7 separate regions of the Homo sapiens genome follow, and regions 2, 3, 4, 5, 6 and 7 are each linked to region 1. Evidence: promoter capture Hi-C in 16 types of primary human blood cells and fetal thymus (Javierre and others, 2016). All regions are on one chromosome and are shown on one strand. Each heading gives the region's core, a stretch centred on a gene start or on the middle of the fragment in contact. The rest is flanking DNA. Distances are from core to core; before and after follow the strand shown. Region 1 holds the start of FAM133B (family with sequence similarity 133 member B). Region 2 overlaps VPS50 (VPS50 subunit of EARP/GARPII complex). Region 3 overlaps SAMD9L (sterile alpha motif domain containing 9 like). Region 4 overlaps HEPACAM2 (HEPACAM family member 2). Region 5 overlaps LOC112267986 (a long non-coding RNA gene). Region 6 has its middle 5.0 kb from the start of SAMD9L. Region 7 overlaps VPS50 (VPS50 subunit of EARP/GARPII complex).

Region 1 (2,700 bases), core at 55-2,554:
ACAGCTTGCAAATAATTGTTGAATAAAAAAGCGAGTTCAAGAAACGTAGCACATTCGTTTTACGTGCATTTTCCTCATTTTGCTACTCAGTGGCTAAAACTTTGTCACAGGCAAGCCCAGAAATTGTCAGGCTGCAACCTAAGCTTATTGTTATTTCATTATGTTTACTACTCATTCAATCTGATTCATAACCTGAGTTTTTCAGCCCCCTCCCCGCCCCAGCGGTCTAGAATACTTTCCTCCCATCTCCGCTTCTCAAAAGCACCTTTTCTTTTGAATGCCTTTAGAATCTCTAACAACTATCAAGGACCATTTCCTACTCTTTCTGCTGTAAGTTATTTATGCATCTCTTTTATCTCATTCACTAGAGTAATAATTTTCATGCCCAGTACTCGCTCACACATCTTGCCTTTTGTGATTTCAATTAATCTGTAAGGTTGTAGATAATAATGATCCCCTTTTATAAACGACGGCACAGAGAAGAAAAGTAACTTGTTCTAGGTCACCCAACTTCCGACGGAACAAAACTGACATTCCAGTTTTGTGTTGGACTCGAAAGCCAACTATTTTCACGCCATTCATTCCCTCACAGTGTCTATGGGGGCCAGGTCCTACAGGGCGCTGGAGACACGAAAGCAAATGCTGCCATCCCATTTTCAAACGGGAGCCTGCTTGTCGCTAAAACCAGGCGCGCTGCTGGCTCTCCGGCACAGGGACCGCGTCGAGGCCTCTGTGCCTCCCTCCCACTTGGGTGCGCAGGAGAGGGGTGCGGACCTGGGGCGGCCGATACCAAGGGGCGGGTGAGTCGGATGCGTCCAAGGGCCTAAGTCTTCGGAGTTACATGGCGGGGCCAGGTGTGGGGGGGGTTCCCCGAGCCCTCGCGGTTCTAAGTGGGCACTGGGGGCCCGCGTACAGCAGGCAAGAGTGCAAACCAGCAGCGCCAGAAAGAGCGACGAGGTGAGGGAAGAAAAAAGGGGCGGGCAAGAGAGAGCTGGGAACCCTAAAGCGCCAACTGCGTGCGCGGCGCACGCGCATCTGGGATCGGCGGAGGGTGCTGGGTCTCCAGGCCCCACGTCTGAGGGCTGCCGCTTGCCCTCCGGCCCGGCCGGGAACAGCGAGGGTTCTCGCTGTCCTGCCGCCGGGCCCTGCGTCGCCCCACTGTTTTCCCGGCTGAGTACTCACCACCCGATTGTCCCGCTTCCCCATGGTGCTGGATCGAGCGCACAGTAGCACGCCGAGGGAAACCGGGCCGGAGAGACTGCCGAAGAGGGCCTGCCGCAGGTCCTCTTGCCGCCTCCCCACTCCGCCTAGAGAGCGGCACCACGCGGACTCGACGGCCGCGCTCTGCTACAGCGCCCCCTATCTCTGTGGAGGACAGGCCGGCTCCAGAGATCGCTGCAGTTGGCGGAGCGCCTGCAGGAGTCCGGTCGTTCATTAGGCACCCAAGAGCAGGCGACGCTGCGCTTCTGCACCGGAGCCCCACCAAGGCAGCTCGCTTCAGTTTGGCCTTGGATTGTTTTGCTTTCTTCCATTCTTTTTTTTTTTTTTTTTTTTTTTTTTTTTTTTAGACAGACTCTCGCTCCGTCGCCCAGGCTGGAGTGCAGTGGCACGATCTAGGCTCACTGCAGCCTCCACCTCCCGGGTTCAAGCGATTTTCCTGCCTCAGCATCCCGAGTAGCTGAGATTACAGGCGGCCGTCAACACGCCGGGCTAAATTTTTTGTATTTTTAGTAGAGACAGGGTTTTACCACGTTGGCCAGGCTGGTCTATAACTCCTGACCTCAAGTGATCCGCCCGCCTCGACCCAAAGTGCTGGGATTACAGGCATGAGCCACTGCGCTTGGCCTTTCTTCCATTCTTGATACACTGAAATACTCATTCGAGGGGACACAAAGATTCTCCCGATGCTTATTTTGTGCTTGACAGAGTGCAAGTGCTGGGGACAAAGTGAGGACCAAAGAGCCTTGGTCCCTCACGGAGCCCATCAGCTGGTGGGGGGAAAGGCAGTGCTGTCATAGACGCTGCTAACGAAATCACCCTTTAATTTCAATCCCATTCATTCATCACCTGTGCATTCATTTCACACTAATTTTTGAACATGTAGTTTGTACAGTTTTCACTAACTGGGTGGCTGGAAGCTGGAGCTGGGTAGGGCACAAAGATGATTAAGAAAAATCCCTATCGTCAAGGAGCCTGTTTATAAACTCGTAAGGGCAATAAACACACACAGGGCCAACTTTACTGCATAGCATATCGTAATATTGGCACTACTGCACTGCAACTTTAAGGAAGATGATCTGGGCTCCAGAGAAGATAATCATATTTAGTAAGTATTTATAGATAAAGCGACCCCTCTGGGTTCATCTTAGCAAGTATCATTAGGAAGTAGTTGAAAATCAATTAGGATCTTCTCCGGACTCTTGGAAATGGCAAAATGGGAATTACACTAATTACATACAAGAACATGCTTTAAAATCATCTTTCCCGATCTCTGCCTCCCTCCCTCCCTGCATTTTTCATGCTACACTATATGACAGATGCTCCCAACTACCATCTTCTGTCTCAAAACTTTTCCAAACTCTCACATGCAGTCCTTGGTGGTTCTGCTCCCTACTAAGTGTTGATTCTTCCTCAGTAACCCACTTTCCAAAATGAGGCCTCCAGTCTCTCATTTCTCCTCCTCCTCCATTACCCCCGACT
Region 2 (2,700 bases), core at 144-2,643, 680 kb after region 1:
AGACATCACATCCTTTTTAGTAGTGAGATAAAATTCAAATAATGTTAGTTCTATTGATTTTTTTTTTTTACTGACCTCGTAAGAATTAAAGGGGGAAAAATCTAGATTCAATCACGTGTCCTAAGTGTATGAGTATAACTCAGTAAGCTTTTATAAAGTAAACATAGTTATGTAATTACCACCTAGAAGTAGAAACAGAGTATTTCTGACACCCCACAAACTTCTCGCATGTCTCATCCCAGTCATTCTTCTAAGGTAAGCGCTGTTCTGGCTTCTGTCACCAAAATTAGTTTTGCTTGTTTAGAACTTTAAATAAATGGAAGCATACAGTATATACTATTTTTTACTGACTTCTTTTGCCAAACATATTTTTGTGGTTCACATAAATTTTAATTGCTATAGGATTTTATTTTATGAATGTATCACATTTTGCTTATCTAATTATTCTAGACAATTGTGTTGCCTCAGGTTTTTGCCTATTAAAAATAATGCTGCAAGGATTCTGTGTGCTTTTCTGTTCAGTATGTATCCAGGACTAGACCTGCTGGGAGGTAGAGTGTGTGTTGTTTCAGTAGATATTAGGGTTTTCCAAGAGGTTATATCAGTTTCCCCTTCCTCTAGCATCAGATGAGTGGTTCTGTTTGCTCAACGTCCTTGCCAACATTTGGTGGTGTCATTTTTAATTTTTTAAAAATATTTTTAGCCATTTTTTTCATTCGTTACAGTGTTTTTATAGTATTAATTTGCATTTCCTGAATGACCAATACACTTGGGACAGATAGAATAAAAATAAAGGGCAAAAGTCTTCAGATCACTGAGAAAGAGGATATTCAATTGGCTGTTAAACACACAAACATTGTTTATATAGACACACTGTTTATGTAAAAGTTACCAATTTTAATTCTTCAGTTTTTTTATTTTTATCTGTAGATTCTTTCTTTCTACTCACGCAATCCTGTTGCTGCTGCTAATGACTCTTATTCCCTTCTAATACTTTTTCTTATTGCATTGTCTATATGTAGAATTCAGCAGCATGTCTTACGATCTATACTCTTAATCTTTGAATTTATGGATTAATTATTCAGTTAGTATGTATTTATTTAGCACTTAGTTTGTCTCAGAAATAGAAAAAAACTGTTTTTTTTTTTTTTAATAGTGAACTGAATTCAAAGCTGCAAGATACTTTGGAACAGATTGAGGTAAGAAGTATTATATCCTAACCTTAATGAGTTTTTCTTTTCAGAAGTTTTTGAATAGCCTAGGTGCAACATTGTGTTTTGGCTTTTATGTTATTACCAATGTCTCTAGATCACTGTATTTCTTGATTTTCATTTGGAATATCTATTTATGGTCAAGTTAGTGTAAAAATTTACTTGTAAATTATGGGATCTCAAAACAGCATTTGAAAATATTGCCATTTCCAAGAAAAATTTCCAAACTATTAGTCATAGGTGTGTTCTCATATAAATTATATAATAGCCAAAATACTTTCTATGTATTAATTATATTTTAATTATCAGTTACTTTATTGTTTAGTATAGTGAGTTAATTTACCTGTAAGTAATTATTGGCTGATGAAAACCCTCCAAAATTCCTAAACCTCATAATGATACTCACATAGTTCATCAAAAACGTAGAAACTAAAAAGGAAGAGATATGTAATTATGAGCATGAAGCATGTTTTGCCTGTTACATATATTCAAAATTCATCTCTTTCCTTGACAATCTTTGCAAAGGAGGGTATTCATTTTAATAAATAAGAATTATTTGTATTTGGTTTCTTCTAGTCTTTTATTGTTTTCCTGATAAGAGTATTTATAAAAGTTGAGATTGGACTTTCAAATTACCTTTTGAGAAAGTAATTTTTGACCACAAATGCAATTATTTGCTATTAAATAATTGTGAGAATGACAGTTTATTTGATAGTCACAGAAACAACTGCTTTGAGTGGCTTAAGTTAACAATTCCCTGAATATTTTAATGAAGGCTTTCTTTTGAGAGCCCAGGATTTCTTCACTTTTAATAGATATTATTCTGTATTTATATTAAAAACTCTTATTTCAAAGTAAAATCATTGAAAAAGAAATCCATAAAGCATGGTAATTTAGATAAAAGAGCTTAAACCTTGAGGAATATACTTTTAAATTCAATGTAGTTTTGTTGAGAATTCCTTTTCGTTGATTAGAGAAAGATTGTTTTATTGTTCTCCAGTAGTCCCACAAATTCAGTTTATATAAGATTTTAGCAGATGCTTGAGGAAACATTAAGTAGTAGTAAGAGTAAGATTCATTACAAAACTATTATTTTGTTTCCTGTAAAACACTAGGCATGGGTTTTAAGGCATAGAAATTCACATGTTAATATCTTGGTAAACTTGATTATAGTTGCTAATAAATTTACAATTGCAATTTATAACTTTATTTAAATTTGTTTTTGACTTCTAAATCTGGTATGATAGTAAATGTATTTAAATGTTAACTAAAAGTGAGAAATTAGTCTTAATGTTTTCTTCTCATTGCCTTGAAAACATAATTCCTTAACCATGTCTTGCTTCTTCTTTTAATTATATAGGAACAGCTGGACGTAGCTCTTTCCAAAATCTGCAAGAATTTTGACATTAACCATTATACCAAGGTTCAACAAGCTTATCGACTTCTTGGAAAAACACAGGTTTGTTACAAAAGGATGTTTGGATTTTTC
Region 3 (2,700 bases), core at 152-2,651, 540 kb after region 1:
AGTTCTGTGTATTTCCTGAAACAACGACTGACTTTCTTGCTTAACATGATTTCTGCAATTTCTTTTTGGGTATACCTCATTTTCAGAAGAACCATATAATCAATAAAAAAGTCAAAGCACCTTTTCAGATCTGATTGTAAATTTTTTAGGTGGGATGTGAACTTGCTAAGAGCCAAATAACATTCATTTCTGGGATCAGGAGGAATGGTCCACTTTCCTGATAAAAATTGCACCATATGTTTTTTGGATAATTCATTTTCTTTGTGGAAAAAGGGAGTGAGCTGAAGAATCTGGATAGTGTAAAGACCAACTTCTATTTCACCCAAGAAACAAGCTGTGTTATACATGTCATATCGTCTCTGGGACTTCTGTGGTGACCAGTTCTCGGTTTCATAGTTTTTACTATCAGTTTGCCTTTGGGATTCTTTGAAAGCTCTTGAGGCTTTTTCCGCAGCTTCTAGGAGATGTGTTAGGTCATTAACAGTAATGCTCCTACAGTTTTTGTTCCCATCCAACCACCATTTGATTTCACTTTTGTAGACTTGACCTAGTGTATCTGAAATATAGGAATTTTTAGGTGCTTTCATTTTGGCCTGACGTGCCCAGTCCAGAGCTGTGTTAAAGTCCTTCTCTTTAATGTAGAAATGTCTTGCTAAGGCTTGACAAATGAATGCATTTTGTGGGAATCGTCTACTTCCTGCACTCAAGACCTTTTCAATGTCTTTATTCTGTAAAGCTTCCATTAATGGGGAAAACAGAGTGTCTGTTTCATCTCCATACACCTTGCGCTGTCTTGTAAGCAGAAGAGTTTGAACATCATGTTGAAATTTGTCTCTTCCTATTCCAGAATCATAGAATAAATTCTCTTCTAATATATTCAATGCAATTTGACATTTATCCAAGTGATAGCTTCTTTCCAGTTCTTTTAGACAGTACAGGGCAATCAGAGGGTGAATGATACGCACACCTGTGTATCTCCCATATTCTGCAACTTCTGTTTTTATTAGAAGTGTAGAATAAGTTCCCATCTTGTCTTCTAAGCTTTCAGGTTCCCAGGGTGTACTAGTGTATATGATTCCCAAAAATATTTCACACTGTGAAACTGAAATTGTAGAGTCAGTAACATAAGAGCTGAGTAAAGCCAGGAAGGAAATGAGTTGTGCTTCCTTGCTGTCAACATCCTGTCCTTTTAGGATATTCCTGACTACATTTTCTATATATGTTTCATCAAAATTGCTTTTCATGATCATGAAGGAATAAAAGTTTTCACAGTTCTTGTGCTGCTTTTCAATTTCCTTCAGTTTGGCACCAAAAGCTCTTTGTTCCTTGGAAGAAAGTTGGTAATTTAGTGCAATACTGTCTGCCAATTTTGCACTTTCATCTGGATTCCGGGATCTCATGCAGTTTAAGATAATTACCAATGTTTTTTCATATCGCAAATCCTTTTCTGCTAAAACGGAATGGATGGCATTTTGTAGAAAGTAGACATTTTCTTGTTCTTCAAAATCATCCACAAGGAGAAGCACAGGAATGTAATCCTGATGGCTCTTTGCCCTATAGGTGACCAGATTGATCACTTGCTCTGCAATTTCTGCAAAATCAGTTGTCTTGTTTTTTAACACAGCACATCTGAAGTTTTTCTTTAAGTCCCAGAGAACATGCATAGCCAGTGTGGTACCTCCACAGCCTGGATGATGATAAAGATTGATGATTTTTGCAAATATTGGTTTAGGAGACTCTGCCCAGCAGTGTATTAAATCTTTAAGCTTTTCATAACTGTCCCTTTTAACAAAATCTGAAGAATAGTTTTCAGAAGAAAAATAGAAGTTCCACCAGGATACTTTGCCACCTCGATAAAAGTGTTCTTCTTTTGATTTCTTAAACTCCAGGAATTTAGATTTGTCTTTCTCGATGTCTGTCTCTGTACACTCATTTTCACAGAGGATTTCCAGTGCAGTCAAGACATCCTCTTTCTTTTTCTCTAGGATAACTGAAGAAGATCCACGGGCGGGCAAAAACCTTCTTGATGACCGAGTCACCGATTTTAGTTTAAGGATAGTGCTGTTTACCAGTTCTATATTTAAAGTGGAAATACTGTGGTTTGTTAGTTCATCTTCCATCTTCATTCTTGTTTGTAGTAGATCTTTCCATCGTTGATAAATATGTGAGTTTACAGAGATACACAACATATTTTCCATTCCTTTGAGAGCTTGATAGAAAGCCCAGAAAGTTTCAATGAGTGGATCTCCTGGGCTTTCCACTGAAGAGAGTAATAGAAACACTACCAAAAATTTTCCTCTTGTCATTATATTTTCATCTGTGAGAAATAAAATTAGTTTCCTGACTTCTGAAGCTCTTTCTCTCTGCCATAAATGTGGTTCTAGAGGTTTATATGTCTCGCTTTTCAGGTCTGATCTGCCGTTGCAGAAAATCCAGCTGGGCTGTTGGTAAAGATTAAGAGTAGAAATCTTCTCCCACATGTTAGTTGTCTTGTCTTCATATTGATTTGGAAAGTGAAGGTTTGCCACCCGACTTTCTTTGTAAGCTTTGACCACTCCATTGATCATAGATTCAGGATCAAACTCCAACACAGCAAACCATTTAATTTCTTTTAAAAAATCTAAGTGCTTTATTTGGTTTGGATGGCATTTATTTGTTACAAGAATGTACCAGTCATAGTATGAATTATCCAGTGAGTCT
Region 4 (2,700 bases), core at 11-2,510, 610 kb after region 1:
AAAATTTCTTACATAAATCTCACTCCTTTCCAGTGAATTCCTAGGAATAAATGTTTGCATTATTTTAAATAAAAAAACTGAAACTCCTTATTCAAAAATTCAATTATAAGTCTTAGCTCTTCAGTTTCCTGCTCTCCAATTTGAAGCCACACCTCAGAGTGGTGCTTTCTACCATCGTGAGAAGCTGTTTGAAATAACTGATCCATCAAATATTTGTTTTTGTCTTTTGGTTGTGGAAGTGAAGGTGAGCCAATCCTGCCTGAGATTGAATAGGGTATTGCAAAGCCTTTGCACAGTAGTTCTTTGCTTCATCTGTGACTGTTACTGACTCACCCTTAGGGAGGATGAAATCCAATCAGTCCCTCTCCATTACTCACATGACATTTCTCAAATAAACTCTGTGGCGAGGAAGCTTACTAGATGAACCTTATACACTGATAGAATCCTCTGAACAAGAGAAGTCACGATTCCCTAATGGCAAATAGTCTTTTTAACAAATGGAAATGAGAATGCCTGGAAGCAAGTAATCTGTTTTTATGGTGCCCTTCCTCAAATGGACTCTCATAGCAGAATAAGGAAGCAGAGGAAAACTTGGTTCTATACAAATCTATAAAAATGTTAATAATCTGATTTGCTCACAGAAACATTCTGCATGTCTGTTAAGAAAAACTGATTACTTTAAAAGATCTTTTTTTTTTTTTTTTTTCCGGACTGAAATGACTTCAACTATATGAAAGCTCCTTTGCCATCTCATGCACCTTTAGGGCAATAATAAAGATGTATACTTGCATACTTTGGGCCTATATGGTAACTTCCTTCTGAAGCATGAGGTATCTTCAAGGGTGTGATCAATTGTCTTTGCAATGTTGTCAAAAGATATGAGGGGGCAATAAAGGGAAAACTGAGGAACAGAGAGAGTTTAGTAAAGTGATGGGTTGCAGTCACCCAAGTGATGCAGAATGACTTAAATTAGGGTCTCCTGATCCGCTGTTTATTCAGTATTTATTTATTTGAGACAGGGTCTTACTCTGCTGCCCAGGCTGGAGTGCGGTAGTGTGATCACGGCTCACTGTAGCCTTGAACTCCTGGGCTCAATGATCCTCCTGCCTCGGTCTCCCAAGAAGCTGGGACCAGAGGCATGCATAACCATGCTTGGCTAATTTTTAAATATTTGTTGGGATGGGGTCTTTGCCCAGGCTGATCTCAAACTCCTGGGCTCAAGTGATCTTTCCATCTCAGCCTCCCAAAGCCCTAGGAATACAGATGTGAGCCACCACGCCCAGCTTGTTTATTCAGTTCTCTTGACTTTCAACCTAGTTAGTTCTCTCTTCACTGAGATTACCAGGTAAAGACTATTTATGAATTAGCATAACTTCCTTATTTGTGTTAGCTTTACTTATAAAGGCGAAGTAAGATGCTTTAGCTTCCCAAATCTGGCAATGCCATTCATTACGGAGTAAGTCAACACTGCTTAATGCAGTAATGGGTAATGCAGCCATTTGACCACACTGCCCAGTGCTTAAACAAATGCTTTTTACACCTCTGGTGAAGCAGAATTCTACTTCTCGGTTAATCAGCCACTAGGAAAACCAACCCTGGAAACACCAGAAACATCTGGAAAAGCAACAAATTCATATATTCCGAAGTCATCCAGAGCATCTTCATGGCCTGAAATGTAAAACAAATACTGCTTACAAACCGAATGCCTTGATTTGCTGTTGTTTTTTAAACCTTTGTAAAACTTATCTTTATTGTCTGTTTTAAATGGTATAGGTACAAAATGAATTTAACATTTCCTAATTCCTATAGTCGTATTGCCATTAAGCAGTGTTGGAAATCACTCTTTCTGAAGCTGAGAATCGAAACTGAATTGGAACAATTATTCTTAAAGCCAGACGTGAGAATAGCCTGTTACATCTTTAAATACACACAGGTGGGCAACCTTGGCCTTTGTAACTTGCAGTTACCAGAGACTCATGGTCACCAGGGTTTAAGCCTGAAGGTCACACCAGTTCTTGATCCACCCGTAATATCTACTGCACCCTGTTAGATCTAACAGATCTAACAGATGTAACAGATCATCAGAACAAAAAGAGTAAATAGCTAACTGAAGCTTCCCATACATAAAAAGTAAAATACATTACACTATCAATCCACATAAACTATCATCTATAGAATGATGGCGGGGGAGGTGGTTAGGAGGAACCAGATAGCCTCTGGGGCCCTTGCCAGCTCTGACATTCTGTCACTTATAAGTCAGGAAGGGCTAGAAAAGAGGAAGAAGGCCCACATTTATTACACATCCAGGCATCATATCAGGCACTCCACCTATATCATTTTATTTAATTCTCATAGCAACCTTAAGGGGGAAGTTTTTATCCCTATTATATAGAAGAGGAAGTTGCGGTTAAGAAAAATAATTTTCCTAAGGTGACATGAGGGGAAATAAAACTGAAACTTGGCTCCCTGTGATTTTGTGGCCTGAGCCAAAACTTTGTTAACTTATAATAAGTCAGTACAGTCAATATTGATGATAATGAGGGTTACAGTGGGGACAAAGAAGCAATCCTGGCCCCTGCCAAATCTTCTTTTCCTCTTCTCTTTGGGATGGAGCTGCCAGCATGAAACCTACCTTAGGAATGAACAAAGTGATAGAACCCTTTGGCATTTTCAAAATAATAATAGGATCAATGAGTTAGC
Region 5 (2,700 bases), core at 13-2,512, 710 kb before region 1:
AGATTTATCTTTGGGAATTTAAAATACTAATAATCAGTCTATCTATTAAGTAAACTACTTACTGCAATTCCTCCAGGTAAAAATTAGTCCCAAAAAATTGGAGATGGCTTTTAAAATGTGAATTTCTAAAATCTATATTCCTTCTGCATGGAAGGAGCTCCTATGTCTGAATTAATATTATTATATATTATGTATATACACACACACAAACTGCTTTACAATCGGCATGTAAAATAAAATTTAGAGATTAAATTAAATAAAATAACCTTTGAGATTATTGAGCCCCAGCCCTCTCATTTTACAAATGAGAACACTGAAACCCATACAGTAGGAACTAGCAAGAGAATGCATGTCTTATATTTTCTTTACCAGTAACTCTAAGATTTATACCACATACTTTGTTGTATTGATTTAGCTATCAATAATTATTTCAGACTTACTTAGGTAACATCACCTATGTTGGTTTTTAGTGATATTTTGTCGGTAAAGGCAGATTGGTTCTTTTGAAAATAAGTTCCATATTTCCCATCAGAAATTTTCTGATTATAAATCTATTTTAATTGCATATTATAAAATACTGAAAGTATAACAATAGAAGTGTAATAATGGTTGGGTTAGGATGTTGTATAATTAATTAGGTTTCTTTCTTATTGTATTTCTTCAGTGATTTTTGAAATGTCATTACCTCCAGTAAGAGAAATGACTACTGCCTCATCGTCCTTTATGATGTTTTACAATAGGACCTGTATATACTTTGCCTGTATTTCATTTGTTTATTCAATGAACATTTTTTCAGCACCTTCACATTCCAGGCCCTGTTTTCAAGTTAGGGGACATAGTGGAAACCAAGACAAAGCCCCTGCCTTCCTGGACCTTATTTCTAGTGGCAGGTCTTACTCTCAGCCTGAATGTCTTCTCCTCTACATGCCTCTTCCATCTCCTTCCCCAGGACCATAGCAGACCCATGTCCCTACCAAGTTGATGTAATTAAGAAAAATAAAGTGGCTGAGTGTAGTGATTCACACCTGTAATCCCAACACGTTGGACTTAGATACTCAGAAGCTGGGCTGAAAGTCAAGTCTGAAGACAGAATCTGTGCTGTATTCAGAAGTGCCTCTGCCTTTTATAATTAAGAATTTTTTGACTGTGCCAAATGTGCCTGTTCCTCTGCCCTGGAAGTGTCCTTCTTGCTTTATGCAAATAGATTTCTGGCAAACCACAGCCCCTCAATTGACCATTCATTCATGTTTGAATCTCAGCAAGCCCAATTAAGGTCAAAAAGAAAGTGGCCCTTCATTCCTCCCACTCTTACCTTCAGTTGATACAACACCCGCAGACTCCTGGATTCAGTAGACAAATGCCTGCCCCACCCCCACATCAACTTCACAGACAGACCTGCTAGCTTCCTATGTGACTTACTTGAGGGCCCTCAGAGGACCATCAGGTCTCTACCCAGGACTCCCTTATTCCATTCTCTTGCCTGCAGCTGTTTTGGTTGCCAAAAGCATAAAATGTCTCCCAGTTGTTCAAGGCTAATTAAAGTGGTAGATAAAGTTACCCAGAGAGTCTCAGGTTAACACTTTGTTGGCAAAAAATAAAAAAGATTGCTTAATTTCCCCCCTTTTCACAATTGCTTTTTAACAATTTAAGATTTCTAAAGATTTTACTTCAGGCAACTTTATTTCTCTGAAGTGTGCCTAAAGACTTCCTGAGTCAGCTTTCATGCTCCCACACTCATTACCACAAGGGTCTGTGGCAAAGAACTGGATACTTAGCCTAGCAAATTTGCTGATTCCAGACCTGATATGACAGCAATTCCCATGGTAGTTGGATCAGCCTGACAGAGTTGGCCAAGAGAAACACAATAATCATTTGAGATGCTATTTAGCCTGGTGAGTTTAAGTACCTTTTGGATTGTTTGATCCTACTGTACCAAACCTTCAATTAATTACCGTGAAATGATTCTTAGTCATTGGTAGAAAAATTAGTCTCAACAGAGAGGAGGGGAGCAAACATTCACAAGATGAAATACTATTTTCACTGTCGAAAACTATTTTCCTTTCTATTTAAGGCGTTTCTTGAAATTCCTCCTTTAGAGATTTAGTCCTTGGTATAAACTGTGCTGATTTAAAATTGCAAATGTATTTGAAAGGGAAAGCATATTAAGCCAAAGGTCAGCAACCTTTTCCTATAAAGGACCAAATAGTATTTCAGGCTTTGTGGGTCACATACTGTCTCTGTTGCAAATTCTCTTTTTTCTTTCCATATTTCACAACCCATTAAAAGTATAAAAACCATTCTTAGCTTGGGGGCTGCTGGGCCACGGGCCATAGTGTGCTAAGACCTGCATTAAAAACGATAGTGAACTACTCACATATAACTAACTTCATTTGTTGATTACTATATTAAAGACATCCAAAAACTAGGAATTTTAAGAGAAAGTACATGGAGAGAAAAATAATATTTGAAAACATTTATGTAATGCTATCTGCCATGCACAATTCTAATCATTTCACCTCTATTAACTCATTTTGTTGTATAATGGAAGTAATATTATCTCCATTTTACAAATGGGGAAACTGAGATAGAGACTATGTAGCTTCCCCAAGCTCACGCAGGTAGTAAGTAAGGGAGCCAGCATTGCAACCTAAGAAGTCAGGCTCCAGCGTCTATGACTGTATTCACAATGCTATGCTGACA
Region 6 (2,700 bases), core at 14-2,513, 560 kb after region 1:
AGCCTTTGTTGCTAAACATCCTGATATAACACTTAAAGTATGCCATATGTTGAATCCAGCTACCTATTTGCCTGAACCCACAAGTATCGTACATTATTCTTGTATATAAGTTATGCTGCAAGTTTACTCCAGCTGTCCAGATTTAAAGGATAAGCCTCTAGATAATCTTGAGGCAGTATGGTTTACAGATGGAAGTAGCTTTGTGCACCAGGGAGATGGGAAAGCTGGGTATGCCGTTGACAGTCAACACGAGGTAATCGAATCTCAGGCCTTACCAGCTTCTACCTCAGCTCAAAAGGCGGAATTAATAGCTCTTATTAGAGCCCTGCAATTGGGAAAGGACTTAAGAATTAACATTTCACTGATTCTAAGTATGCCTTCCTGATACTTCATGCTCATGCTGCTATCTGGAAGGAATAGGGACTCCTAACTGCTAAGGGTTCCCCTATAAAACATCACTTAGAAATTCTGGGCCAGGCACGGTGGCTCATGCCTGTAATCCCAGCACTTTGGGAGGCTTAGGAGTGGGGATTGGGAAGGGGGGGGGGTGGATCACTTGAGGTCAGGAGTTCGAGACCAGCCTGGCCAACATGGTGAAACCCCGTCTCTACTAAAAATACAAAAAAAATTAGCCGGGCATTGTGGCAGGTGCCTGTAATCCCAGCTCCTCAGGGGGCTGAGGCAGAAGAATTGCTTAAGCTTGGCAGGTGGAGGTTGCAGTGAGCTGAGAAAAGAGGCTCTTCCCTTAGTGTGACTAAGGGAAACTCCTTTGCAGATGCAGCTGCTAAGGCCACAGTGTTAAAGGAGCCCCCAGCCATGATAATAACAGAACCAAGATATATTAAAGAGGAAGAGGAATGGACTGAAGGTCCATTGAAGGTCAGGGTTTAATTGAAGATCATTCTGGCTGGCTTATCAATGATAACAAACTGTTGACACCAGGTGCTAATCACTGGAAAATAGTTAAGCATTTGCATGACTCTACTCATTTGGGAAGCGATTCCCTGTATCAATCAATGTCACAGCTTTTTGTAGGAAAAGACTTACTTAAAACAGCAAAGCAGGTGACTCAGGCCTGTGAACTATGTGCCCAGAATAACCCAAATAACCGATCTTTACCTCCTCCTCTAGTAAGGCCTGTTCGGCACAGAGAAATGTACCTTGGTGAAGATTGGCAAATAGACTGTACTCAGATAGTCCAATGTAAAGGGTTTAACTATTTATTAGTATTCGTTGACACCTTTACTGGTTGAATTGAGGCTTTTTCTATCTGGTCTGAAAAGGCAATTGAAGTTTCTAAGCTCCTACTAAAGGAAATAATTCCCAGATTTGTGCTGCCTAAGAGCTTACAGAATGATAATGGCCCATCTTTCACAGCAACAATTACCCAAAACACATCTTCAGCCCTATGAATTCCTTAGTAGCCCAACTGCAGCTAAACTCCTGGGAATAAACAGCTGGGTCCACTTACCTCAAATTAAACCTGACTCTTACGAAGTCCCACAGACCTGTGGAACACAAGAGACTGATCCTGTTTATTCCTGTGAGTGAATCAGTGACCTCTGACTCCTGTTTGGAAGAAATGAAAGGGAAGGGTTACAGAAAAATATAGATTGACAATCTACTTTTGGGTATAAGTTGGAATCATGCAGAGAGTAACTTATTTACTGAGTGGGCACAGACTTTAGCCTCTACATAATCAGTCAAACTGTTGGGTAGGTGGAGAATTGCCACTTTCCTCCACTTCTGGGTTGCTCTGACATATTCAATCGGCCAGCTTAAGTTTGTGGGGGACTTTATTATGTTCCAGACTATTACCTAGCCTGTGAAAGCTTTAGACACTCATCTCTCTGACATCGATGTACCATCAGTTGACCCTTTATCGACTTGGTTCCAACAACTTCCCAGTTTTTGGAAAGCTTCCCTGTTTAGTTTACTTGGAATGATTTTACTTATTTTGCTTTGCTGTTGTGGAATATATTGCAGTTGTACTTTTTGTGTAGGAATGCAAGACAAGCTCACTCAATGCTTTCTTAAATTGAACACTTACTAATCTTCACTTAATCTTCTGTGGCTTAAGCTACTCAGTCTGTGGTACTTTGTTATGGCAGCCTTGGCAAATTAATACAGTGCCATTAAATTTCTGCTTGCTGATTCACCATTGATTTCATTTTCTTTGAAAACTAAAACTTTTTTTTGGAGGTTATAGATATCAGGATGTATATATTAAATGTGTACAATGTTTTTCTGAATCAATTATACCTCAGTAAAGCTAAATATCATTATTTCTTCAACTGTGACTATAATAAAAGTTTATTTTCAAACTTAAAAAATACAGAATATACAAAGAAGGGAGAAAACCTATGTTATCCAAATACAATATCTATTTCCTGTTGTTTACTGCCTTTCTTTTTTTTCTATATGTATTTAAAAATATATAAATTTAATATTTGAGAAATTTCCCAGGCCGGAAAGCATGTAACTTCAAATAGGCAATGTACAATGCCCAGTAATCTAGGTTTTATTTAGCTTTGTCTTTCTCTCTCAAAAAGCATATTTCGGAGATTCTCAACTGCGCATCCCCTGTCAATTTTGACCTCCATCACTCTCATGTGATGAAATGTCTTCCTATATAATGGACAAAAGGGAAGCCATCAGGTGGGTTTTCTCACATGCTCCATTCTCAAGATCCTCAAACTC
Region 7 (2,700 bases), core at 24-2,523, 660 kb after region 1:
TATCTGTGATCTTGAAATAAGTTTTGAATCCTGTTTCATTTGGAAAGAGATAAAATCTATTTCTGTTCAGTGATTAATGACTTTTGTAATACTGACTGAATATTGAAAACTTCATGTTTTGTTCTTACTTCTAGCTCTGTTTAGATTTTGGTCACTAAACGCTTCTTTTTTTTTTTGCTTTCAGTTAGAGCCCTAACGTGATGTTAACTTTGGTAAGATTATAGCTTCCGTTTTCCCTATAACAGAATAGATTTTTTATGTTGACGAATGAAGAAATGCAAACAGTAAAAAAAAGTCTTTGATCAAAGATTTGCTGTGGCAAACCGCAAATCATGCTTGTAAAATTTCTCCACTTTCCTTCTCAACACACACACACACATACACTGCATTCTGCCATTGAGTTATATAATCAGCTATATAAGCACTATATTCTGCCACTGAGTTATATAATCAGGTGTATAATGTGGACTGGTCTAATGAGCTAAGTACAGAAAGAGGAGTTGGTGTGCATTTCATTTTTTATTCTATATATTTTTTTCAGAGTTTTGAAATCTGACCTGTGAAGTAAAGATTTGCATTCATATTTTTGTTTGAATAAAAACTAGTACTGAAGATTATGAGATTCCAAGCTGTTATGTGGGTTTAGAAATTAGGTTAAATTACTTTTCAAAATTGCAGAAAATATTGAGTTTAATAATGGTAAGGAAAACTGTTAAGCTGTCATAACTTTTTATAAAAGTGAATAGAATTAAGAGCCCTGAATTTGGATTAGTATTTTTAATTAGTGTGGTATTTTAGATAATTTAAAAGTAGTGATTAAATACAAAATTAGTAGTCTCTCTTTTTTTCCTCCTAAACTTGAATATATTCCCTTGAGTGATGAACTCTTAAGTGGAAAATTTTTTGGTAAAGTTATAGCCTAGTTCCTTAGAAACCACAAACATACTGGGAATGTATCATAATACCTTACATTTGAGGGCTCAAATTGTTTTACATAGCTGAATCCCCAATTCCCATAATACCTTTTTTGTTGTATTGAGAGGAAAAGTAGCTTTGCTAAATCAAAGATGTTGACTTAAATCTCTAATATGATTGTTTTTCTTCACTTTTCATAAAGTTATATTTCTGATGTACATTTATGTACATGTTCATGTAGCTTTATCTCAGACATGATCAAAATAGAAAAATAGACTAGGTGGTATTATATGCAACCTTATTGCATGTTGTGACTGCTGGAAAAACACAGCCTCTAAAACGTTGAATTCTGCTTGGTTTATTACATTAAGAAAATATTGAATATTTTTGCCTGTTTTTGATATAGCCTAACCTGAGGCAGTGATATGTGTTAAGATGTTTTACTTTTAGTGAAGAAAATATGGTTCTAATATACAAAAAATATGTTGAATTTAAACAAATCTCAGTTGTTGCATTTGTCTTTTGGCATACATGCAGACTCTCCCTTGTGACATTTTTCTATCCTGCGGAAGCCACCCTTTATTGCTTTAACCTGTTGTGCACTTTCTCGATTCAATATTTTTACTTTTGCTTTGCTTTATATTTGTAACCCTATTCTCCCAATTTCTAAATCTGAAATTCTACCTATTCTCTCATATTTTCCAAATGCCACCACTTCCATCAGATGTGAACCCACCGTCTGATGCCTTCATTCTGTTTGCATCACCCTCATGTTCTGCTGTGCATTGTCATTGCTTACTTATTCATCTGACCCCTCCTATTATTTTAACAACTGTTTGAGGGAAGAGCTATATTTTACTCATTTTCGTTCCTGTATGACCTAGTATGGGAAATTTTTACATAATGGGAATTTAAAAAATTGTTAAATGAAATTTGTTTTTTAGGGGAAGATAAGGTTATAGAGCTTTGAAAGTAGGCAGGTTAGTTTCTAATGATAGTATGGGAGAGAGATTTGATTTGTTCATTTTTTGCCTTTTATGCTTTTGTTTTCTCCTCTTTGTTATTCCAATTCATTACTTTAATTGTAGTTTTTTTCTCCAGCTTTAATTCTGGGGTAATGCTGATAATACTTTTTGCTTAGTTGATTACCATTGACAGCAAGTTGTGTGGCAGCACATTTGGTAGCCTGTAGTTGACAAATTATTTTTGGACTTTCAAGTTTTAGAGAGCATTTATATCACTATTAATGATACTATGTATTTATTAATTATTATGTGACATAAAATTTATTATAAAAATATTTTAAACATTTTTAAGACTGAAATATTTTATCCTAGACTTAGTTTGAATATCTAATATTATTATAATTTTTTTCTTAAATCATATGTTTAAGTATGGTGTAAGAAGTTCCATTTGGTATTCATTTCCCCCAATTTTGCCTTGTAATTTTTTTATAGGAAACTTTTTGTTCATTTTGTTTATGTAAAATTTGGGCTCACACCTATGTATTGGTTCTATTTTAGGTGAAGAATTATGTATTTTTGTACATCTCCCACCCTAGGGAATCAGTTTCTATTAAATTATGTAGTAATTGTGTTAAGAATAGGCAATCTGGTTGCTTCTGTTTATTTTTCTAATTTACATGTGTAAAATATTCCTAAATCAGTTCACATCGTTATCTCTAATTAAAAGAAAGAAATGTTTTACTAAGAGTTGGTGGAAAATTTTGACTATTGAAACAAGAGCATATTGTCTTTTCCTTTCCTTTTGTCTTATATTCATTTT

Evidence for each region. The method cuts DNA at HindIII sites, captures the fragments that hold promoters and counts their contacts. A CHiCAGO score of 5 or more calls a contact.
Region 2: a fragment that was not itself captured here is called in contact with the fragment with the promoter of FAM133B in region 1 in 1 of 17 cell types (neutrophils); the score reaches 5.2 in neutrophils.
Region 3: a contact is called between a fragment that was not itself captured here and the fragment with the promoter of FAM133B in region 1, in 1 of 17 cell types (fetal thymus). The highest score is 5.4, in fetal thymus.
Region 4: a contact is called between a fragment that was not itself captured here and the fragment with the promoter of FAM133B in region 1, in 2 of 17 cell types (naive CD8 T cells and naive B cells). The highest score is 5.8, in naive CD8 T cells.
Region 5: a fragment that was not itself captured here is called in contact with the fragment with the promoter of FAM133B in region 1 in 6 of 17 cell types (naive CD8 T cells, non-activated CD4 T cells, total B cells and 3 more); the score reaches 8.2 in naive CD8 T cells.
Region 6: a contact is called between a fragment that was not itself captured here and the fragment with the promoter of FAM133B in region 1, in 3 of 17 cell types (non-activated CD4 T cells, total CD8 T cells and naive B cells). The highest score is 6.1, in non-activated CD4 T cells.
Region 7: a fragment that was not itself captured here is called in contact with the fragment with the promoter of FAM133B in region 1 in 1 of 17 cell types (neutrophils); the score reaches 5.1 in neutrophils.

Annotation. Positions count from the first base shown.
Region 1 is chr7:92,589,086-92,591,785 of GRCh38, forward strand. FAM133B (family with sequence similarity 133 member B) reads right to left here and starts at 1,305. Exons shown (of 11, transcript NM_152789.4): 1 at 1,183-1,305. The coding sequence starts at 1,206. RefSeq lists enhancers at 1,033-1,092, 1,183-1,462. The HindIII fragment of the contact is 8,062 bases long and covers 142-2,700 here.
Region 2 is chr7:93,270,064-93,272,763 of GRCh38, forward strand. It overlaps VPS50 (VPS50 subunit of EARP/GARPII complex), which reads left to right. Exons shown (of 28, transcript NM_017667.4): 10 at 1,157-1,199; 11 at 2,572-2,670. Among named protein-coding and RNA genes, the nearest start is that of VPS50, 39 kb to the left of the region's middle. The HindIII fragment of the contact is 2,497 bases long and covers 146-2,642 here.
Region 3 is chr7:93,132,055-93,134,754 of GRCh38, forward strand. It overlaps SAMD9L (sterile alpha motif domain containing 9 like), which reads right to left. Exons shown (of 5, transcript NM_152703.5): 5 at 1-2,700. Among named protein-coding and RNA genes, the nearest start is that of SAMD9L, 15 kb to the right of the region's middle. The HindIII fragment of the contact is 725 bases long and covers 1,040-1,764 here.
Region 4 is chr7:93,194,234-93,196,933 of GRCh38, forward strand. HEPACAM2 (HEPACAM family member 2) reads right to left here. Exons shown (of 10, transcript NM_001039372.4): 8 at 1,595-1,668. Among named protein-coding and RNA genes, the nearest start is that of HEPACAM2, 31 kb to the right of the region's middle. The HindIII fragment of the contact is 1,701 bases long and covers 411-2,111 here.
Region 5 is chr7:91,882,465-91,885,164 of GRCh38, forward strand. All of the region lies in intron 1 of LOC112267986 (a long non-coding RNA gene), which reads left to right. Among named protein-coding and RNA genes, the nearest start is that of MTERF1, 3.1 kb to the left of the region's middle. The HindIII fragment of the contact is 4,536 bases long and covers 1-2,700 here.
Region 6 is chr7:93,152,004-93,154,703 of GRCh38, forward strand. No RefSeq gene overlaps it. Among named protein-coding and RNA genes, the nearest start is that of SAMD9L, 5.0 kb to the left of the region's middle. The HindIII fragment of the contact is 1,133 bases long and covers 698-1,830 here.
Region 7 is chr7:93,245,918-93,248,617 of GRCh38, forward strand. All of the region lies in intron 2 of VPS50 (VPS50 subunit of EARP/GARPII complex), which reads left to right. Among named protein-coding and RNA genes, the nearest start is that of VPS50, 15 kb to the left of the region's middle. The HindIII fragment of the contact is 9,468 bases long and covers 1-2,700 here.